Regions from separate parts of the Homo sapiens genome. Here all the other regions are linked to region 3. The links are contacts of gene promoters, found by promoter capture Hi-C in blood cells and fetal thymus (Javierre and others, 2016). All regions are on one chromosome and are shown on one strand. The core of a region is centred on a gene start or on the middle of the fragment in contact, and the rest is flanking DNA. Distances in the headings are between cores, read along the strand shown.

Evidence for each region. Contacts are between HindIII fragments. The CHiCAGO score rates a contact against its expected background, and 5 or more counts as called.
Region 1: the fragment with the promoter of TIGD1 here is called in contact with the fragment with the promoter of COPS7B in region 3 in 1 of 17 cell types (total CD8 T cells); the score reaches 5.5 in total CD8 T cells.
Region 2: a contact is called between a fragment that was not itself captured here and the fragment with the promoter of COPS7B in region 3, in 1 of 17 cell types (fetal thymus). The highest score is 6.0, in fetal thymus.
Region 4: a fragment that was not itself captured here is called in contact with the fragment with the promoter of COPS7B in region 3 in 2 of 17 cell types (endothelial precursors and non-activated CD4 T cells); the score reaches 6.3 in endothelial precursors.

The regions. Positions count from the first base shown.
Region 1 is chr2:232,549,228-232,551,927 of GRCh38, forward strand. TIGD1 (tigger transposable element derived 1) reads right to left here and starts at 1,330. Exons shown (of 1, transcript NM_145702.4): 1 at 1-1,330. The coding sequence starts at 655. It overlaps EIF4E2 (eukaryotic translation initiation factor 4E family member 2), which reads left to right and starts at 1,462. Exons shown (of 7, transcript NM_004846.4): 1 at 1,462-1,517. The coding sequence starts at 1,498. It overlaps MIR5001 (microRNA 5001), which reads right to left and starts at 1,346; the gene lies at 1,247-1,346. RefSeq lists a silencer at 1,473-1,842. The HindIII fragment of the contact is 3,438 bases long and covers 152-2,700 here.
Region 2 is chr2:232,436,440-232,439,139 of GRCh38, forward strand. No RefSeq gene overlaps it. Among named protein-coding and RNA genes, the nearest start is that of ALPI, 18 kb to the right of the region's middle. The HindIII fragment of the contact is 168 bases long and covers 1,181-1,348 here.
Region 3 is chr2:231,785,065-231,787,764 of GRCh38, forward strand. It overlaps COPS7B (COP9 signalosome subunit 7B), which reads left to right and starts at 1,381. Exons shown (of 7, transcript NM_022730.4): 1 at 1,381-1,474. RefSeq lists silencers at 1,019-1,098, 1,109-1,288, 1,379-1,638. The HindIII fragment of the contact is 4,652 bases long and covers 887-2,700 here.
Region 4 is chr2:232,566,916-232,569,615 of GRCh38, forward strand. It overlaps EIF4E2 (eukaryotic translation initiation factor 4E family member 2), which reads left to right. Exons shown (of 7, transcript NM_004846.4): 5 at 1-66; 6 at 163-299; 7 at 2,030-2,295. The coding sequence ends at 2,102. Among named protein-coding and RNA genes, the nearest start is that of EIF4E2, 18 kb to the left of the region's middle. RefSeq lists an enhancer at 983-2,182. The HindIII fragment of the contact is 838 bases long and covers 849-1,686 here.

The DNA.
Region 1 (2,700 bases), core at 80-2,579, 760 kb after region 3:
GCCTGTCCTTTGAAGCTTTGAAGCCAGGCACTGACTTCTCCTCTCTAGCTATGAAAGTTCTAGATGGCATCTTCTTCCAATAGAAGGCTGTTTCATCTACATTGAAAATCTGTTGTTTAGTGTAGCCACCTTCGTCAATGATCTTAGCTAAAGCTTCTGGATAACTTGCTGCAGCTTCTACATCAGCACTTGCTGCTTCACCTTGTGCTTTTATGTTATGGAAATGGCTTCTTTCCTTAAACCTCATGAACCAACCTCTGCTAGCTTCAAACTTTTCTTCTGCAGCTTCCACACCTCTCTCAGCTTTCATAGAGTTGAAGAGAGTTAGGGCTTTGTTCTGGATTAGGCTTTGGCTTAAGGGAATGTTGCGGCTGGTCTGATCTTCTATCCAGACCACTAAAACCTTCTCCATATCAGCAATAAGGCTGTTTCGCTTTCTTATCATTCGTGTGTTCATTGGAGTAGCACTTTTAACTTCCTTCAAGAACTTTTCCTTTGCATTTACAACTTGGCTAACTGTTTGCCGCAGGAGGCCTAGCCTTCGGCCTATCTCGGCTTTTGACATACCTTCCTCACTCAGTTTAATCATTTCTAGTTTTTGATTTAAAGTGAGAGATGTGCGACTCTTCCTTTCACTTGAGCACTTAGAGGCCATTGCAGAGTCATTAATTCGCCTAATCTCAATATTGTTGTGTCTCAGGGAATAGGGAGGCCCAAGAAGAGGGAGAGAGATGGGGAACGGTCTGTGGGTGGAGCGGTCAGAACACACACAACATTAAGTTCCACGTCTTATAAAAGACGCTGTATGTGGCACCCCAAAACAATGACAATAGCAACATCAAAGATCACTGATCATAGATCACCATAACAGACACAGAAATCATGAAAAAGTTTTAAATATTTTGAGAATTACCAAAATGTAACACAGAGACACCAAGTGAGCACATGCTGTTGGAAAAATGGCGCTGATACAATTGCTGGACTCAGGGCTGCCACAAACCCTCCATTTGTTTTCAGAATGCCCTATCTGCGAAGCGTAATAAAACGAGGTATGCCATAGTACAGTGGCGCCGCGACCGACAAAGGAAAGCCTCCGGGAGGTCAAAAGAGATACCAGAGAGTGCGTCCCGCACTGGAGGAAGAGGAAGGTTTTTACCAAGCAGCGAGTCCAGAGCCCGCGCCGTCAACGACGCGGTGCTGCCTTTTTTCCGAGCCGCTGCGGGAGGGGGCCAGGACACGCTCCCTTAGGAGAGCGGGCGGGTCACAAGGACCTGGACAGAGGCAGAACTGAGGCCAGCAGCCAGCTCCGCCGCTGAGTCCAGCCCTCTGCGCAGCCGCCCTGAGCTGGCGTCCCGAGATAGCCGCTTCCAAACCGGGCCTGCGCGCCGACGTTCCGCTGCGCCCCGCGCAAAACCGGAAGTACCCGGGCCCAAGGCTGAGGGACCCGGTGGAGCGGAAGTCACTCCCTGAGGCAGTGGCGACAGCGGCGGCGAGAGGATGAACAACAAGTTCGACGCGTGAGTGGCTCGTGGCCGCCCCCGGGGCCCCTTCCCCGAACAGTTCCCCCGCGCCCGCCCCCGCTGGGGCTGGGGCGGCGCAAACCCTGCGGCACCGGCTTCCCTGCTGGGATCCGGCTGCGGCCGGACCTGGCCTGGACTGGCGGGGAGGAGGGGGCTGGGGAGCAATGGATACCGGAGTCCCGGAGACCCCAGGGCCGTCCGAACCGAGGGCGAAGAGCTGGGCCCGGGGGAGGGGTGGCTGTGCCGCCCGGTAGGGGGAGATTTTCGGACGCCCCGCCCTGGTGGATGCGGATTGCCTGCGACGTGGAGGGGTGGGGACCTCGGCGGTTTGGGTGTTTCCGCAGTCTGGCAGCGCTGCCTCTGAATCCAGCTTTCCCCACACACTCCCTCTCCCCTCTGAGCCTCAGTTTTCTCATCTGCAGAGTGGGGACGGTAACACCCTTTGTCGTAGAGTTTGGAGGATGCAATGAGGTAATGTGGTTGCTGCCCTCGACGCGGTGGAAGGCTGGCTTAGGAATTATCTTCCTGAGACTCTTCCTACTTTCTTTCTCCTCCCCTTCCCGTTCCCGTCTTCCAACACACTCGCCAAGACCTAAGTATACTTGTTGCCCTCTCCTGCCCGCTCCGGTTTCTAGTTTCAGCATCAAACAGTTTGGAGGTACAGAGAGAAAATGCAGAAGTATCTTTACTTATCCCCCTCCAAGGATTGTATCTTGAGGTAGAATATGTTCCTTCCTCTCTTCTAGTAGTCTAGTAAATCGACTGTCTCTTCATCCGAAAACCTGGATTTCTAGTCCCAGATTCACCACTTACCATCTGTTTGACTGTAGAAAAGTTACCCAGCCTCTAAGCCATTGTTGCTCAAACCACATTAGTGGCTAGGACCCTGCTGCCACGCCGGGGTGTGATAAGGGTCAGATCACACTCAGCGATGCTTAAAGATGCTTGTGAACATTGCTAACTATTGCGATATAAACGTAAAGTGGAATTACTATTAGTTTAGGTTGTGACCTGGTGCTTTTGATGGGAAATTGGGGTGTTTCCAATACAGAGAGTACTGTGCAAATTCAGGGAATACTGGATTTCCAACACTCCAGGCAGGTAGGTCCTCAGGAATGTTTTCTGGTTGCTGAGAGGTCTCTGCTACTTGAGAAAGTCTTTGCCCGACCTCTTCTCTATC
Region 2 (2,700 bases), core at 15-2,514, 650 kb after region 3:
GTTTTTGTTTTGTTTTGCCTCCGTGACTTTGCTATCTCACCCCTTTCCTATAAAACAGTCCTTTCTCACCATCTCTTGGAATTAGTCTGGCACTCAGGAATGCACCTCTGCTGTTGAGGCTCCAGGAAGTTAGGGCCAAGGCCCTCTGGTGCAGCAGTGCAGACCGCGGCCTGGGGGTGGGGAGACTGTGTGTGGCCAGTCTTTTATTTTTTATTTATTTTTTTATTTTTTACACCTTAGGCTTTGACCCACACAGAAAGAGATGGAACAGCCTGGGCTGCAGGGGCCTGGAAAGGGACGAGCATGTGGGTGGCACCACGCGGGGCAGCTGCAGGGGCAGGGGCTGCCTGTTCTCCTTCTCCCGGTGCTGCTCCAAGGGCACAGTTTGGTGACCGCAGCCACTTAGGGGAGCCTTGAGGATGCAAAAGAGAGTGAGGACACAAGGACACTAGCAAAGCCTAGCTCTGAAGGAGGAGGGATGCCATGCTGGGATGTCGCCACCGTCTTGTCTGAGCCCAAGGGTGGTGCTCGGTCCACCCGTGGGGAGCAGGGAGGAGAGAGGACAGGGCCCTGGCTGCCTCTGGCCTGCTTGGGAATGAGCTCCCTCAGGCGGAGCTTGACAGTATCCACACGCCCAGCAGCAAGCATCATCATCAGAAACACGCAGCCCAGAGCTGTGTGCCCAGCAGAACAGGGCACTGGGGCAGGGACCCAGCCTTCTCAGCTCCTGAATTGGAGCCTGGCATGCCCCATCTTAGAGTCCTTCATTCTGTGCAGATGCACTTGGCATCTAGAGTGGGACCGGAGTCTACGACACGGCATGGAAGGAAATGGCCCCTGTGTTCAAAGAGGCTGTCACAGACATGGCGGCTGAGTGCTGGGATGGGCTCTGAATGGGATGTCAAGAAGCAGGTGGCAGGAGATGGGTGGAGGGAGGGCGAAGGACGATGATGCTCACTGCTGGGCGTGTGGAAGGGGAGGGGAGCTGGACGCAGAACCTCATTCCCTGGAGGTAGGACTGAGCCCATGACGGGGGAGCCGCAGAGGGCCCTTCCAGCAGAGGGATGGGACCAGCTTTGGCGTGAAGGCCGCAGAGCAGAGCATGACTAGGGAGGCCACCTGGTAAAAGAGACGGAGGCTGGGACAAGACTGGTGCCCTTGTCAGAGGGAGGCCAGGAGAAGCTTCTAGAAATGTAGCTGCGTGTTTAGCCCAATTCCTAGAGTTGGGGCAACCATGCCAGTCACAACATAGGACGTGTTACAATGATGTCTTATTTTTTTTTCAAGGCCAGGCACTGGCACATTGCTTCCCTATTTTACAGGCTTTGAAAGAAATGGAGATTCTGAAAGCTTAACTAATTTATCTGGCAAGGCATGGTCTCTCATGCCTGTAATCCCAGCACTTTGGGAGGCAGAGGCAGGAGGATCGCTTCAGCCCAAGAGTTGGAGACCAGCCTGGGCAACATAGTGAGACCTCCTCTCTATAGACAAAATTAGCTGGGCAAGGTGGTGCGCGCCTGTGGTCCCAGCTACTTGGATGCTGAGATGGGAAGATCAGGATCACTTGGGCCACCAGGGAGGTGGAGGCTACAGTGACCCGAGGTCATGCCACTGCACTCCAACCTGGGCAACAGAGCAAGACCTTGTCTCAAAATTAAAAAAAAAAAAAGTTTGAAATCACGCAGTGAGAGTGGCAGGGCTGGCGTTCCAGCATCGTCCTTTAAGATGTGACAGCAACAGGTCCCACTTGAGACAGCAGGAACGCGGCACCCAGTGCTGCCTCTGCACAGGCCCGATGCTTGCTGGAACCTTAAAGGCAAAGGAGACCCGATCATAAACGCATGAAGAGCGCATGTTTCATGGGATTGATGTTGATGCTGGTGTTCCATGCGAGCCACTGAGGAGAAGCCCCTCTCTCAATGGCAGGGCCATGAGAGGTGAAGGACGCCCCTCCACCCCTCCCCCAGACAGGTCTTTCCTGGCCACAGATGCCCCAGATCCCTGAATGTCAAAATCGAGTCCCAATCTCCCAGTTGAGCAGAGAAACATTCAGATCTGGTTCCTCCGTGATCAGGGAAGGCAGGCTTCCTCTGAAGCGCAGATGGCTTCACCCCTTTCTCATCTCATCACCTCTAAGCCCTGCCAGGGCGAGAGCAGCCTTTCCCAGCATCGTCCTTTAAGATGCAACAGAAACAGGTCCCACCTGAGCCAGCAGGAATGCGGCACCCAGTGGCTGGCTCTGCAGTCTTGATGCTCGCCGGCACCTTCAGGGTGAAGGACGCCCTGTCGTAAACGCATGAAGAGCCCTGCGTTTCATATATTGATGTTGTTGCTTTTTCTTTAGAGGAACGTTTGTGCACTGTGGGAACCTCTGTCTCTACCAGTGTCACCCTTGCTGTGGGGAGTGTGTACCGTGTGCGGGGGGCTGGTGGCCTTTCTCTGCTGTCTGCCACAGCGTGTGAGGGGCTCGCTGAGCCTCACACCTGCCCTATCCTTCCCCATCCCCTCCTGCCCCGGGGAGGCACAGACCCAGGGAGGAGGGGTGCTGGGAGTGAGTGCTGAGGAGCTGGGGTCCTGGCCCTGCAGCCACTGTCACACCACAGCCCCACCCCAGACCTCCAGAGTCGTGGGACTCTGGTGGCACAAGCTCCAGAAGCTTGGTCGATGCCAGGTCTGGGACCGAGGCCCCCGTCTCCGAGG
Region 3 (2,700 bases), core at 131-2,630:
CCTCCCAAAGTGCTGGGATTACAGGCGTGAGCCACCGCGCCCGGCAACACAATCTCTTATCTAGAATAAATCGGTCACCTCACCGGAGGTTTTCCCTGCCTCCAATTCTCTCCACATCCAATCCACTCCTATAGCACCTAGCATGATCACTCTAACAAGGCAATTATTCATACCTCTCCTTAGCTTAAAAAGCCTAAGTAATTCCCCAGTACCTGGCATGTGGATTCCAAGACCTTTGATGACCTGACTCCAGCTCTGTACCCCTCATTTCTCACTCTTGAAAACCCTGGGGTCAAACCACTCTGGGTTTCTTTTTGACATCAGTATATGCTGCACAGTGCGAGCCTCTGTGACAATGGGCACTACCCCCCTTTTTTCCCCTTTTTGTCTGTTTTTTTCTTCCCCAACCTCTTCTGTGCTTCCAAAGTGTTGTCATATCTTCCCCATAGCATTTAACACATTGGAGCTTTTGAGGGTAAGAGCTTTGTTTTATCTTCATATAACTTTTCAGGACATAATAGGTGCTAAAGAAATGTTTTTGAATAAATGAATGAGTTGGTTGATGCTAGGCTCCTTTGCATTTGTCCTGTCTCATTTCTGCATTCTAACGCACGATAGGCAAATAGGGCTGTTTTTCTCTCTCATTTTCAAGACCTGAAAGACTGTGGTGTATACAGGAATCAGTTTAAGTGTTCAATTATGTGGCATTTCTTAGCCATCTTCCCAGGGGAGTTGGTAAGCACCAGATGCAACTCTATCAATGACATTTTGGTCATAGAACCATTGTTGGCTTAACCCATCTCTTGCTTATTTTAAAACATTTTCTGAATAGAGGTCAAGAACATCGTCTTCGGCCTCAGATAGCCTGGGTTTGACAAAGATAGCAAGCTTTGTCACTTTCTGACTTTTGGACTTAGTTAACTCACCTGAAAAATGGGAACAATAATACAAGCCACAGTTATGAGAATTCAACGAGATAATGCATGTACAGCACCTGGCACATGGTAAAACGCTCAATAAGTGGTAGTTAGTAGGCTTAATGTATCTCGGTGCCCAGGGGTAGCGCAGTAGCCATGGGGAGCTCCTGAGAGAGAAAGCACAGCCTAAGGGGAGGATTTGGGGCCCGGGATGGCGATGGCGACGGTTGGGCTGCAGTACCGTCTAGGCCGCATTCCTCTCCTTGGGCCCCTAGCCACCCCCTCCCCGCCTGGTTCCCGGGCTGCAGACTCTTCCCCGCCCCCTCGCTCCCACTTCCCCACCGGAGGTCGAAGGCTGTAAACGCGGCGGGTGGAACCTTGTGTGGGCGGAACGCGAGTGCAGCGGTGGGAGGCTTCCGGGGGAGCTGCACGGGCGACGGGTCGGCGGAGACAGAAAAGCGCCGGACGCCGGGGTGATCATGGACGCTTGACAACCTGCGGGCAGGCGCCGGGAGGCCGAGCCAGCGACTAAGAGGACCGAGAGGTGGCGTGGACAGGTAGGAGCTAGCGAGAGGGTGGGCCGAGCGGGGCCGGCGCTCCAGGCTCGGCCAGACGATCCGGCTTAGAGCCCGCCGCCAAGGAAGCCCGCGGCCGTGCCCGCCCCGCCCCCGCCTTGGGGAGCGCGTCCCGCGGCTCCTCACTCCACGCCTGCGGCCCTGCTTGGAGCATACCGCCCACCGTGAGGTCTGCTGCAGCTTGCGACCCTCAGCTTCAGTGCTGTGGCTGCTTTCGCTCTCCCATCCCCAAAGGCTGCTCGTTTGCCCCTCTCCAGTCCATCCAAATAGCGCCCTCCCCTGACGGGAATTTATCTCCGCTCTGTGCCTAGCCTCTGGCCCTCCCACTCCAGAAGAAAGCGACTGTCTCCGTCTCTTTACATTCTCTGCGCCCACAGGCTTTGCTCCTTAAGCCGAGATTTTTTGAAGGGACAGAAGTTTCTCTCCATTTCCCTACCCCCTCTCCACCCCCACCTCCTAACATTGGGACTCTTTGCAGAGATCCCCATCTGTCTCTTCACACGGGTCCTCTTGGAAGGGCCTTTTCGCTCCTTCCCTCTTTACCGTCACCGACCCTCCTTTCTTCCCTACTCCTTTCCTTCTTCCTCGTATCCTCTCCCCTTCTCTTTTCCCTTTCCCTTCCGTCCTCAAACTCGTTGTTCCCCAGCACTTCATTGTTTTTCCTGTGTCTGGCCGGACCTTCTTAGGTAACCCTAAGTGAGGCGACATACTTGTTTCTCTAATACTGTGAAAGGGCAACTAATCTGTGTGCCTGCCAACACAAAACTTAGTTCCTCTTGCACCAAACTATTCTTCAAATTGTTCTTTGCTGCACTCTACTATACCGTTTTTCGTTCATTTTGTCACGCTGCTCTAATATGTATCATTCTTGGAGGAGAAATCTTACCTGGAACTCCTGTACACTCAGCGTGTAATTAGATTACACAATTGAGGGACCCTCCTGTACTTAATGTCTTCGGAGCGCTGATACAATATTTTCACTGTTTTCCCAAATCTTTTTATCGTTTTCTTGAGGTTTTTTTTTTTTTACACATTCTGAAGTCACGTTTGGTTAAAATGTCGTATCAGGAGGAGGCCGAATACAGGGATTTTTCCCCATGGTCTTACACAGCATGTATGTTCTTAGTTTGAATATATCGCTACTTTTCTTTCAAAATGATGTCTCCCTTTATCTGTGCTTACTTGACTTGATTAAATGAGACATCTTT
Region 4 (2,700 bases), core at 18-2,517, 780 kb after region 3:
ATGCTGGGGGAACAGTTCATGGTTGGGGAGGAGATCTGTGGGGCTGTGGTGTCTGTCCGCTTTCAGGTAAGCCACCCATGAGCCAGGCTGGTTTCTTGTGTTGCCTTTGCTCTCCTCGCTGCCCCTGATTTGCTTTGATGATTCCTTCTGTTCCTCTGGTAGGAAGACATTATTTCAATATGGAATAAGACTGCCAGTGACCAAGCAACCACAGCCCGAATCCGGGACACACTTCGGCGAGTGCTTAACCTACCTCCCAACACCATTATGGAATACAAAACTCACACCGACAGCATCAAGTACGTGTTGGGGGGTTATGGGAGGACGTGTCCCTAAGCTTAGTATAAGTAGATCTGTAGTTGGGCCCAGAGGAATATGGCCGGACAGGAGACTTACTTGTGGAGAAGGGACAGACCAGGCCTTCCCTCTAGGGCTTCTGGCTACTTGCTGCAGTTCTTTGTCAGCGAGGCTCCCTGCCACCTATACTACCAGGTGCTTTGTAGCAGAGAGAGCCCATCTGCAGAAACCCAGTTGTACTACCTGGGCTTGCTTAATTTCTACAGGCTGTCTTGTCTTTCATATGCTAACCACTATCTTAAAATGAAAGACAAGTGCTTTTCTTTTTCTTGCTGTTTTTTAAGATAATTTCACCCTGCCCACCCTCACCCCACTTCTGCATGTCTTTTTAACTTGTTAGCTTCAGTCTATTTTCTTTGTCCTGGGATACTGACTACTTATCAGGAATGACTCCATTTCCTTGTGTATAGAGCTGACTCTTAGAAGAAGGGGGATAGTGTGTGTGTGAGAGAGCAGAATCAAAGGGAAGCATGAAGGCCACAGGGAAAATAAGCTTGGCAATCTCCCTAGGACTCAGGGAAATAGAGCTCTCTGTCCACAGTGAGAATCACTGTTAGGCTTGCTCCTCAGTGATTGAGTGTCAGAAGTAAGCTCAGGCTATTGTGAAAAAGTGTGGGGAGTGGCTGTCAGATTGTCTCAAAGCTGGAGGGAGAGCTAGCCAGCTAAGAGTTAGGACTCTTAGGTTTAGTTCTCTCATATGGCCCCATACCAATATGTGCCTTTGACAAGTGTCTTTGCAACTTTGCTTCAGTTTCTCCATCTGTAAAGTGGGAGACAGTACTTTATCTAACAAGGCTATTGTGAGGCTGATTTAATCTTTAACTGAGGGTCTTCAGATGGAGAATGCTTTTACGGGGCCAAGTAGTAGTATTGCTATCATCATCATCATCATTAGTAAGAATATCATCATGTTGTTATTATTGAAGGCTAGTAGTGAGCCCAGCAATTATGTTCAGCAGACAGACCATTTGGGAATCTCTTTCCCATGCATTCATAGATAATGTGGAGTGGAGTTGGCTTAAACCAGCTAAGTGCCAGTTTTTAAGTGGGAACACTGCTATGGGCGTTGGTCCATGATCAAACGGCTGGCATGACTCATCATAGTCACGAACAGTTATTAGCCAGCCATGGCTGTGGTTGCTTGCCTTAGCAGTCCTGTGTTAGCATTGCTTTACTCTGGGCACATTTTTCTTATTCTCTATTCTGGGATAGAAGTAGTTTCTGACTTCTAGCCACGTTCAGTCCAGGCTGGAGAGATCTACACCTGTTTCTAGGATTCTCGTTTTCAAGGTTTCTGAATATCCCCTACTCCCACTTACCCCCAAAATAAGCTTTTTACCTGGATAGGAGAGGGAAAGAGGTATTTTTCATCAATTCTCCCCTTCTCTGCTCTTCTCCCTTTCTAATACCATAAGGCAGTTCTTCGTGACTTTTACAGAAACATATGTACACGTCCTTACAGAGTTTAGGAGAGCCTGTGGGCTTTTTGCCTTAGTCTGCTAGAAAGACTGGCCTGCTGCTCTCTGCTTTATCCAGAGGTCTGCCTCTGGGACTTCAGCCCTGTAGCTGTAGAGACCAGAAGACCAACCCTCTTTGAGACCCAGATGCTACTTTCCCTTGCGTCCCCCTCTCTTTCCTCTCCCAATGAGCCAACCTTTTGCACTTCCACTAGAATGCCAGGCAGGCTGGGCCCCCAAAGGCTCCTTTTTCAAAACCTCTGGAAGCCGCGGTTGAATGTGCCATGACCCTCTCCCTCTCTGGATGGCACCATCATTGAAGCTGGCGTCATCGGAGTCTCTTGTTCTGTTGGCGTGCTACCTGGAAGATCCTTCTGTCCTGGACAAGAGGAATTGGAAGAGCATTTTATGTTTTAAGAACAGGCTGACACGCAGCAGCTACAACAACAGCTGAGATCACTTAATAAATGGTGCTAAACTAGCTTGTCTCATGCTCTTGCTCTTTATGGTGCATCAAAGATGTGGCCTTTCGGACTGACTGTCACCATATTAAGGGATGGCACAGACTTTTCCATGGAGGGCCATCCGGGGAATGCAGCCTCATTTCCATAAGCCCATTGTGTAGTGTCATGTGGTATTTTGTTCCAGGACTGCTGAGGCCTGACATAATAAGGTGACATCTAGCTTAGAAAATAAGACCCCATTTTCTGGTACTTAAATTTGAGTTCCCATCTAGTCACACCGATGACCAGAACAGAGTGATTTCTGATATAGAATTCAGCTTGAAAGTCTGTTCAGGTTGGAAAGGGGGATCCTTGGCCTTTGCTTCGCTGACTTCCATTCGCCTTTACTTCAAAGAAATCTCTTGCTTGGAGGTAAATCCCTG